3 separate regions of the Homo sapiens genome follow, and all the other regions are linked to region 1. The links are contacts of gene promoters, found by promoter capture Hi-C in blood cells and fetal thymus (Javierre and others, 2016). All regions are on one chromosome and are shown on one strand. Each heading gives the region's core, a stretch centred on a gene start or on the middle of the fragment in contact. The rest is flanking DNA. Distances are from core to core; before and after follow the strand shown.

Region 1 (3,154 bases), core at 260-2,759:
GCCCGGTTAGATCCTGACCCATCCCCACGCCTCTTTTGCAGTTCTGCGGGGCCACCATCGCCGGCCTGTCTCTCCTGTCTCCCAGCGTTATGCGGCTGGTGCACACCCAGGAGCCGGGGGAGTGGCTGGAACTCTTGCTGGAGCCGGGCTCCCTCTACATCCTTAGGTACCTCCATCCAGGCAGCACCCACCCCTCCAAGAATGTGCCATCCGCCCACCCTGTGCCCTGGGTACTTTCCCTCAATCCAGCCCTCCCCGAAGACGCCTTTACCCCAGGGTCTGTGTGGGAGGCAGCAGGGGGCTGGAATCCAGGAGGCTGGAATCCAGGTCTGCCTGGAGCAGGGGCTGCCCTCCTTGCACCCAGTCACAGCCTGTTTCTTCCTGCAGGGGCTCAGCCCGTTATGACTTCTCCCATGAGATCCTTCGGGATGAAGAGTCCTTCTTTGGGGAACGCCGGATTCCCCGGGGCCGGCGCATCTCCGTGATCTGCCGCTCCCTCCCTGAGGGCATGGGGCCAGGGGAGTCTGGACAGCCGCCCCCAGCCTGCTGACCCCCAGCTTTCTACAGACACCAGATTTGTGAATAAAGTTGGGGAATGGACAGCCTAACTGGGACATTGCAGTGGCTGCTTGCTGGGGCCGGGATTTGCAGGGGAACCCAGGATGGCACTGGCCCATAGGGAGCTCCAGGTGTGGCTGGCTGGACACATGGTCAAAGTCACAAGGCCGGGAGAGTGGTGTCCTTTATTGCACTCACTGCTGGTCGCCCCAGCCCACTCCCCTCCTCGTTGTCTCTGCATCCAGGTCTCCAATAAATAAGTCAGCCGAGCTCCCCCAGCACTGCAGCTTCTGGGTGCCAGGCCGGGCACCCTCAGCCACCACAGCCGCAGGCAGCCGCCGAGAGCTGGGGCAGCCGCTGCCAGCGGTGGCGGTCATCGAGGAAGGCCACGTCGGTGTAGCGAGTGGGCCGGCAGCAGGGCCCGCCGTGGGCTCGGCCCTGGCCCTGCAGCCGGGCCAGCGCCAGGCCATGCTGGGTGCGGGCACCACGGGGGCAGCTGCCGGCGCAGTAGCGGAAGATGACCTTCTCCTCTGAGGCGTAGCCCAGGCCTAGCTCTGCCACGGACAGGGTCAGGCTCCACAGCTGGCATGGACCAGACAGGGCTCGGCGCAGGCGGGCAAGGGGGCGGTGGGTGCCTGTGGGAGGGAAGGGCGCTGACAGTGAGCAGGGTCAGGGCTGGGGAAAGTTGGGAAGTCACAGAGGGTCCCTGGAAGTCCTTACCCAGCCAGGTCCCTCCAGCCTTTGCCACCTGTTCAGACGAGAACTCTCCATCGGCCACGGGAACCCCACGGGCATCGGGGCCCCAGCCCTGTCCCAGCTGCAGGGACAGGAGCAGCAGGGAGCCCAGCAGGAACTTCCCTACGGCCATTGTGACGGGCAGGTCCTGAGAGTGGGAGCTGTGCCCCAAATTTATGCCCTGCCTGGGCTGGGAGCTAACCTCTTCACTGCCGGCCCCTGCAGCCAGGAGGCCCCACGTCTGCACCAGCCCATCTCCTGCACCCTCGAATCCAGGCATCTGCTCCTTCTGCCCCACACCCCACCCTTCTAAGAGTTAAGGGCTCACCCCCAGCCTACCCCACCCCGACATTCCACACAGCCATTTCCGACGCCCCAGACACCCCCTGATTTACGAGTGCTGTGCTGGCGGCCAGGGCAGGCAACTGGTGTTCCCCCGACCTGCTGCCTGGAGTGGAAGTCAGGGGGCTTCATGGGACCCCGGTGGGGTCCCTCCCCACTAAGTCAGGGTGCTGGGGCTCAGGAGCCCCCACGTGTATCATGTGCCAGGTGGAGCATATGTGAGTGCTGGGAAAGGTGGCTTGGCAGGGGACTGAGTCCACGGGAACCCTCCATGGTGGCTCCCGCCTGGAGGATTAGGACATCATGCCCCTGTCTCCGGGCCTGGCTGAGCCAGCATCAAAACAGGAAAAGGGAGAGGCCTGGGGACAGCCAAGGGTGGGGACACAAGGGGACAGGGACGCCTGTCTCGGGAAGGCCAACCTGAGACCCCTATAACTGCAGCCCCATCCTGGGATCTGAGCATGTCAGAGCCCCCGGGGCGATGGAGGCTGTCCAGGTCATGGTAACGTCTAGCACGATGCAGACAGATAAGGGCTCTCGAGGCTTCCATACCCAGCCCCGTGTGAGCCCAGTCCCCTCACCGGTACAGGGGAGCTCCTCAGAACCCCTCCTACTCGGCTTGGTGAGGAAAGAGATGGGCACTTAGAGTGTAAGGCAGTGCCCGTAGCTTCGAATGCAAAAACAAGCAAACAGCTTGTGATTGTCCGAAGGGGTGCTTGACTCTAAGCACCCACAAGATTGGGGAAAATCAGAAAACCCTCACACACAACCCGTGTGACCCAGGTGCACCCTGTGCTGTTGGTGGGGGTGTAAATTGCTAGCAGCTCTTTGGATGAGCAGCTGCTACTGGGGAATTGTAAATTACACCCTCTGCCCCAGGAGCCCTGTTTGCGGGGTTCCTCCCACACAGGCAAGTGAAACAGCCAGCACAGGGACATCTGATGCCTTCTTCATATTAGGAAAGTCTGGAAGTGGCCTCAACTCCATCCGTGAGGGATTGCTTCGATGATTATGTTGTGGTTTTTCTTACTGAAGTGCTTATTGAGATGATAATTTTCCGATGGAAAGAAAAGCCTGGGCTTGGCGTGGTGGCTCATGCCTCGGGAGGCTGAGGCGGGTGGATTACCTGAGGTCAGGAGTTTGAGACCAGCTTGACCAACATGGTGAAATCCATCTCTATTAAAAATACAAAAATTAGCTGGGCATGGTGGTGGGCGCCTGTAATCCCAGCTACTCGGGAGGCTGAGGCAGGAGAATTGCTTGAACCTGAGAGGTGGAGGTTGCAGTGAGCTGAGATTGTGCCATTGCACTCAAACCTGGGCGACAGAGCGATACTGTCTCAAAAAAGCCTGGCGGGGCCCAGTGGCTCATGCCTATAATCCCAGCACTTTGGGAGGGTGAGGTGGGAGGATCACTTGAGGTCGGGAGTTTGAGACCAGCCAGGCCAACATGGTGAATCCCTGTCTCTAACGAAAATACAAAAATTAGGCGAGGCACAGTGGCTCACGCCTGTAATCCC
Region 2 (3,385 bases), core at 403-2,902, 1.0 Mb after region 1:
GAGGTTTCCCAGGCTGATCTCAAAGCTCCTGGACTCAAGTGATCCTCCCTCCTCAGACTCCCAAAGTGTTAGGATTACAGGCATGAGCCGTCTTGCCTGGCCATGGGGAGATCTTCTAGGCCTGGCTGACCAGCCAACCTTGGTGAGAGCTGTTCTGCTCGACTCCTGGTTACTGTTCAACTGCCTCCCCTGTGGCAGGACTTGGATTAGACAGGCAACCTCAAGACTGGGGTGTCTGATGGCAATTGAGAGGTTGCTGGTGCTGGGGGAAGCATCTGGCCTATCCACATCTGCCAAATAGCACCTGTGTGGAAGTGGATAGGGGAGGGTATGGTATGTGTTTCAGACTCTGAGCACCTGTTTGAGGGTATCTGACAGCATCTGTATTGGGGTTATCTAGTATGTGTTTGGGGGTATCTGCTGGACCTATGTGGAGTGTCTGACATATTTGGGGGTTACCTGGAAGCCTGTTTTGGGTATCTGATGGCACCTGCCTGGGTGCCTGTGTTTAGGGGATCTGATGGTATCTATGTTGGGGTGTCTGAGACCACTGGAGAGGTATATGATTCATTTTTCCCAGACCCACCTTTCTGAAGTCTATGCTGCCTCTTTTTTTGTTGTTGTTATTTTGAGACAGAGTCTTGCTCTGTTGTCCAGGCTGGAGTGCAGTGGCATGATTATAGCTCACTGCAGCCTGGACCTCCCAGGCTCAAGTCATCCTCCCACCTCAGCCTCTGGAGGCATGATCATAGCTCACCGCAGCCTGGACCTCCCAGGCTCAAGTCATCCTCCCACCTCAGCCTCTGGAGGAGTTGGGACCACAGGCAGGCGCCTCCATGCCCTGCTCATTTTAAAAAATGTTTTGTAGAGATGGGGTCTTGCTATGTTGCCCAGACTGGTGGTCCTGAACTCCTGGGATGAAGTGATCCCCCCACCACTCCCTGATGCTGCTTCTTTTTTCTCAGGTGACAGACCCTGCCCTCTCCATTTCTTGGACTCTCCCCGCTAGGACTCCCCACCACTGGGAGTGCCCCCCTTAGGTACTTCCAATCCTAACGAGCCCGTAGGAGCCCACTGACAACCCCTCCAGGCATCCGTTGATTCTTCCAAAACACCCCCAGCTCCACTGTCCTCCCTTGGGGTCCCCTTAACCCCGCTATCCTCCCTCGGGGTCCCCCAACTCCGCTGTCCTCCCTCGGGGTCCCCCCAACCCCGCTGTCCTCCCTTGGGGTCCCCCAACCCCGCTGTCCTCCCTCAGGGTCCCCCTAACTGTGCTGTACCCCCCTTGAGATTCTCCAAACCGCTGTCCTCCTCAGGACTCCCTCCCCAGCCGCGCTAATCACCCAGGCTTCCGTTAACCCCACAAAACGCCCACCTAACCCTGCTGCTCTCCCTCTGGATCCCCGCAACCCAGCTGTCCCCTCAGAGCCCCCGGCCCTACTGACAGCCAGGCTCGCATTGCTCTCCTTCAAAAAGCCCCCCAACCCCGCTGACCCGCCCCTCAAAAGTCGCCCTCACCCTCGCCGCGAGCACCCTCCCACTTCGGTGCCCGCGCCCCTCTCAAGGCCGAGCCGACGCCCCCTCACCACGGCTCGGGGAGCAGCAGCCCCAGGTCCCCGGGAGCGCCCCGCCCTCGAGGGCACGCCTCCTTCCGGGTCACGCCCTCTGCCCCGCCTCCGAGGCGGGATCGCGCATGCGCTGCTCTCCTCGCGCGGCTTCCCGCTTCCGGCTCCCAGCTGCTAGCTACTGTGGATCTGGGGGGGCCGGACGGAGGCATCGGAGGCGGCTGCGAGAGTGGCAGAGGAGCTGGCGGAGAGCGGCCTGCGGGCGATCGGGCCGAGGTGAGGACGGCGGCGGGGCGGTCCCGAGGAAAACGGGGCTCAGGAGGGGGCCCTCGGTCTCTTCAGGGGGTGGCCTGGGGCGCGGGACCCCCGGGGCTGCCTCGGGCCTCCCGCCGGCTCCTGGGGGACTTCTCCAGGCAGGCGAACGGGTGCTGGGGTGCAGGCTGCTCCTTCAATGCATGGAGGCTCTAGGCGGCGATTGCAGGGTGCAGAGGTGCAGACGATGCCCGCCCGCTCCGTCCGAGCCCCAGCCAGTCCTGGGGTGCTACGGCTTACTCTCCTCCAGGAGAGGAGAGGAGGGGTCACTTGGGCCCCAGCCTCTGCTCCTCGTTCAGGAGCGCCCGGGGCAGGACCAGGGATGGAATGGAACCCACCACAATACCCAGCACCGTCGTATTTCAGGCCTCCCGGGAGAACCCTCACACCCCGGAGCAGACAGCCCTCCCTGGCAGGGAGCGTTTGGGTGCAAAACCGTGAGAACTATCTGTGCCATGGGTTTTAGTTTCTTGTATAAGAACTCAGTTGGTGCTTTCATTGCGGACGGGAACGAGAAGCTTTCCCCTGGTCCTTACATGTTTCGTTTTGTTTTACGTTTTTAAATTTCAACTTTTATTTGAGATTGAGGGGGTACATGTACAGGTTTGTTACCTGGATATATTGCGTGATGCTGAGGTTTGGGGTGTGACTGATCTCGTCACCCAGGTACTGAGCATAGTACTCAATAGATAGTTTCAACCCTTGACCTCCTCCTTCCCTTCCCGCTCTAGTAGAGCCCAGTTTCTGTTGTCTTCTTGGTGTCCATGAGTACCCAAGGTTTAGCTCCACTTACAAGTGGGAAAGTGCAGTATTTGGTTTTCTTTTCCTGCGTTAATTCTACTAGCACTTGAGTGTTTTGCTGTGGCTATCTGCCCCTTATCTCTTGCTCTGTTGAGATTAAAGCCTGGACCACAGGATTAAAAAACATTCTTAAAGTTTTACCACGGAAGCGAAGCGGCCAACACACCTTTTCCCCTTTGCCTTGTTTTCGCGGAGATGAAGCTCCAGCCAGTAGCTTTGAAGGGCCCCATTCTCTTCCCATTGACCAGAGAGAGAGTTCAGGACAGTATAGACAGCCCAGTGGCCAAGGGATGAGTTTTGCAGGTGTCTGAGTGAATGATTAATCCTCCAGCTGTAAGAGGTGTCAGGAGAGGCTGGGCGCGGTGGCTCAAGCCTGTAATCCCAGCACTTTGGGAGGCCAAGGTGGGTGGATCACGAGGTCAGGAGATCGAGACCATCCTGGCCAACATGGTGAAACCCCATCTCTACTAAAATACAAAAATTAGCCGGGCATGGTAGCGGGCGCCTGTAGTTCCAGCTACTCTGGAGGCTGAGGCAGGGGAATCACTTGAACTCGGGAGGCAGAAGTTGCAGTGAGCCGCGATCGGGCCACTGCACTCCAGCCTGGCGACAGAGCAAGACTGTCTAAAAAAAAAAAAAAAGAAGTGTCAGGAGCACAGGCTTGAGGTCAGATCCGAGCTGGGTTCTGGTCCCAGTTCCACCACCTG
Region 3 (3,453 bases), core at 954-3,453, 1.3 Mb after region 1:
GGGCAGTGCCCGGAGGGCACGGTCGAAGGTGCGGCGGGTGTGTGTGACGCGCCCCTGGTCCATGAGGAACTGGCAGTAATCTAGCCACAGACGAGGCATCTGGGGGTGTGGGGAGAGGCGGCTGGGGCTAAGCCACGGACTCCATGGCCTGGCCACAGACACTCGATGTCCTGTGGCTGAGCCACACCTGGGGCCACCACATAAATGCGGCGGGACCCAGAAACCCCCAGCTCCAGGACTGAGTCCAGCCCAACTTCCCATGCAAAGAAGCAACAGGAATCCAAGCCCCCATCCCTAACATGCTGAGCCCAGCCCCTGTCCCCGCCCCACCCACCACCATGGACTGAGCTCCACTTCCCGATTCATCCCCTCGCCGAGCCCCAAACCTTGTGCATGAACACAAAGGCCCTCTCATGACAGTTGTTGACATCTTCATAGGCAGGGTCGGTCACACAGCGATGCTTCACCTGTGCCCGACGCGCCTTCAGGTATCGGTACCAGAGTTTGTAGCTGGGGAATAGGAGGGGACAGATGCTGATCGGTCAGCTTTATGGACACCCCCAGAACCATTTGCCCTGCCCCAGTTGGCAAATGTGGGAAGAAGGGGTGTGGGAGGGGTGACATGTCTCAGCAATGACAGGGACAGACTGGGACATCAGAGAAGGTGTGCTGACCCATCAAGGGATGTACAGGTCAGTGATGAAACACGAAGCAATCACCCGGGACCCGGGACCCACTTGGCAGTTTTGTTATAACTGGACCAGGTGGGGTGGGGGCTGGTGGGCAGGGCAGCTGGAGCCATTCCCACCTGCAGGGCAGCAGCTTGAGTGCCCGCTCGTATAGCTGATTGAGCCTGGGCTTCGGGGCGCCCTGTTTGAACTCGATGTAGCGAAGCCAGCATTTGACAGAGAATTGGTTCCGCATGATTTCCTCCTCATAGGGGAGGTCCTCTTCCTCCTGCCAGGGCCAGGGAATGGGAAGAAGAGAGGCCTACCCTCAGAGCCTGTGTGCAGCACCATCCCACTGCTGGGGCTCAGGTCCAAACTCCGGACTTTTACCTAGATCCCACCACCCACCAAGGAAGTCAGGTCACCAGATGCCCAGGCACCAAACCAGATGCCCGACACCAAGACAGTGGCCCAGACCTTTACCCCTCAGAATTCAACTACCCAAAATCGAACCCAAATCATCAGACTTCTCAGTCATTAGGGCTCTGGGCCAGGAATGAGTCCGCATCACCACTCGCTTTCTGCCCCAGATGGTCAGACTCCTTAGATACCAAGGCCCTGGCCCAGATGCCAGTCCTGGACACCAGACCCCACTTCTTCAAAACGTGCCTCTTCCCAGACACCAGGCCTTTGGCCCCTCAGACTCCCACTGTCACCATCTGACCCATCTCCACCCCAGGCCCAGATGACCAGATCTTTACCCCAGCCACCAGGGCTCTCAGGTCCAGATTCCAAGCCACTAGCCCCGCCCCCAGGATCCCACTAGCCAGCGTCTAGCTCAACTCTGCCCCAGAAATTAAAAGCTAGGCCTTTATCTCACAGGAGGAGTTATACACCAGAAGCCAAGCCTTTAACTCTGCACACCAAGAATCTGGTGAAGATGTCACGCCTCTACTCCAGAGAGTAAGTATTTCACTGGCCATCGCCTGACAAGCTCCACATCACCAGGGTTCTTCTAGCCTGGCCACCACCCCAGAAACTGTCATGCTGCAGTCCAGGCCTAGAGACCGCTATCCAGAAAACCAAGCCTTCATCCCAGAAACCAGAACCCTGGCCTCGTAAGCAAGCCTTTACTTCAGACACCGATCTTCACCTCTCAAGGTTCAGTTATGCGATCTTCCTCCTCTCCCATTCCCTGCACGCCCCCATTTCCGCCCCTGGTTCGGGAGGCTAGACGCTTCCCTTCGACAGTGGTTTTCTACTCAGACCCGAAGATACAACACCATATTTTTACTCCTGGACAGTTCGGTGCGGACATGACGATCCGGTCTCTGGCCCATTAGGGTTCCCAGACCTTGGCCTGGCAGTTTCGGCCTAAATCTCCTTGCCGACCCAGCCTCGATCCCCTGCGGCGTCCAGGTCCCAATGCCCCAACGCAGGCCACCCCCGGCTCCTCTGTGGACTCACGAAGACAAGGTCCGGCCGCTCGGGCCGCGAGAGTCGCGCCATCACCACCATTTTTCTGGATGCCCAGGTACAGGAGAGAGTCGCGCGCTTATGACGTCTACCACTGACGGCCCGCCCCTCCGAGCCAGACCCGTTTTCTATTGGTTAAATCATTTTTGACGGACAGGCCCACGTTATTGACTTCTTTTCGACGACGCCAGCGACCGGAAGCAGAATAGAGGCGCCAGAAGATGCGCCATCAGGATACACATTGGCCAATCAGCTTCAGCAATGGAGCGTGCAAAACACCAGTGAGCTTCTGTCTTGCTGGAGGGTCGGCTTTGGGCGGAACTGGCTTTGTTGACCGGGAGAAACGAGATGGGGGTGAAGCTGGAGATATTTCGGGTCAGTGGACACAGGAGTGGGTTGGGAGGCTGGGCAGGGGATCTTCCTGGATCTGAAGATGAGGTTGGAAATGGGGGGACTTCAAAGGAAGAGGGAGCTCCAAGGAGAAAGCTCTTAAGATTTGAGAGGAACCTTTCTGGTTGGAAATCCAGGAGAGGGGACGCTGGGCTGGGGGGGTTCTCGGATTTGGGCTTCTGGGTTTGGGGGCTGTGAGAGGGCTGGTCCGAGGAAGGACCTCAGAGAGGGGTGAGCTGAGAAGGGGGCTCTAAAGAAGGAAGACTTAAGATCCTGGGGGAGCTCTCGGGCTCGTGGTGGGTGGGTGTCTATGACAGGGAGATTCCTAGACTTCGAGAAGTGGAGTTGAAGAGTGACGCCTCCTGGGTTTGGGGGTGCTCCCGGGATCTTAAGTGGGGATGGGTAATGAGGTCTCGAGGAGATGCTTTTGATTGTAGCTGGGGCGTCTGTGTGTCTGTCTGTGTTTGAGAGGAAGACTCCAGCTCAGAGGGAACTTTCAGGAATGAGGCCTCCTGGATTATAGGAGTTAGGTTTTAGGGTGCGAGGTTTCTGTACCCTTGGTGGGAGTTCTGGGATTCTTGGGTCGGCCGTAACGAGGCGCTTCTGGACTCTGCAGTAGGATGGGTCCCCCAGGCTCTGAGGAGCCTCTGCACATTGCTTGGGGGGAGCTCACCTCACCCACCCTCTGCCATTCCAGATGATAATCTACCTCACTTTCCCTGTGGCTATGTTCTGGGTTTCCAATCAGGCCGAGTGGTTTGAGGACGATGTCATACAGCGCAAGGTGGGCATAAGAGGAGTGTTTGAGGGTTCATTCCAGGGGTGGGAGAGGGTGTGGGGCAGCAGTCTGCTGGGGACTAATGTCTGCCTCCCATAAGCCGACCCTGCCCTGATGTGGGGCTCTGGAGGCCTTTGGCTC

The links. Contacts are between HindIII fragments. The CHiCAGO score rates a contact against its expected background, and 5 or more counts as called.
Region 2: a contact is called between the fragment with the promoter of ARHGEF18-AS1 here and the fragment with the promoter of PSPN in region 1, in 2 of 17 cell types (fetal thymus and total CD4 T cells). The highest score is 9.3, in fetal thymus.
Region 3: a contact is called between the fragment with the promoter of XAB2 here and the fragment with the promoter of PSPN in region 1, in 1 of 17 cell types (non-activated CD4 T cells). The highest score is 5.3, in non-activated CD4 T cells.

What each region holds. Positions count from the first base shown.
Region 1 is chr19:6,374,424-6,377,577 of GRCh38, forward strand. It overlaps PSPN (persephin), which reads right to left and starts at 1,510. Exons shown (of 2, transcript NM_004158.5): 1 at 1,279-1,510; 2 at 725-1,193. The coding sequence starts at 1,426. The coding sequence ends at 871. ALKBH7 (alkB homolog 7) reads left to right here. Exons shown (of 4, transcript NM_032306.4): 3 at 42-166; 4 at 388-827. The coding sequence ends at 550. The HindIII fragment of the contact is 10,611 bases long and covers 1-3,154 here.
Region 2 is chr19:7,393,407-7,396,791 of GRCh38, forward strand. It overlaps ARHGEF18-AS1 (ARHGEF18 antisense RNA 1), which reads right to left and starts at 1,653. Exons shown (of 2, transcript NR_186326.1): 1 at 1,587-1,653. All of the region lies in intron 10 of ARHGEF18 (Rho/Rac guanine nucleotide exchange factor 18), which reads left to right. RefSeq lists silencers at 1,412-1,852, 1,561-2,130 and an enhancer at 2,341-2,520. The HindIII fragment of the contact is 12,223 bases long and covers 1-2,393 here.
Region 3 is chr19:7,627,342-7,630,794 of GRCh38, forward strand. XAB2 (XPA binding protein 2) reads right to left here and starts at 2,204. Exons shown (of 19, transcript NM_020196.3): 1 at 2,136-2,204; 2 at 809-957; 3 at 387-510; 4 at 1-99. The coding sequence starts at 2,186. It overlaps PET100 (PET100 cytochrome c oxidase chaperone), which reads left to right and starts at 2,452. Exons shown (of 4, transcript NM_001171155.2): 1 at 2,452-2,519; 2 at 3,232-3,318. The coding sequence starts at 2,493. It also overlaps a transcript of STXBP2 not described here. RefSeq lists enhancers at 2,116-2,235, 2,496-2,545. The HindIII fragment of the contact is 14,766 bases long and covers 1-3,453 here.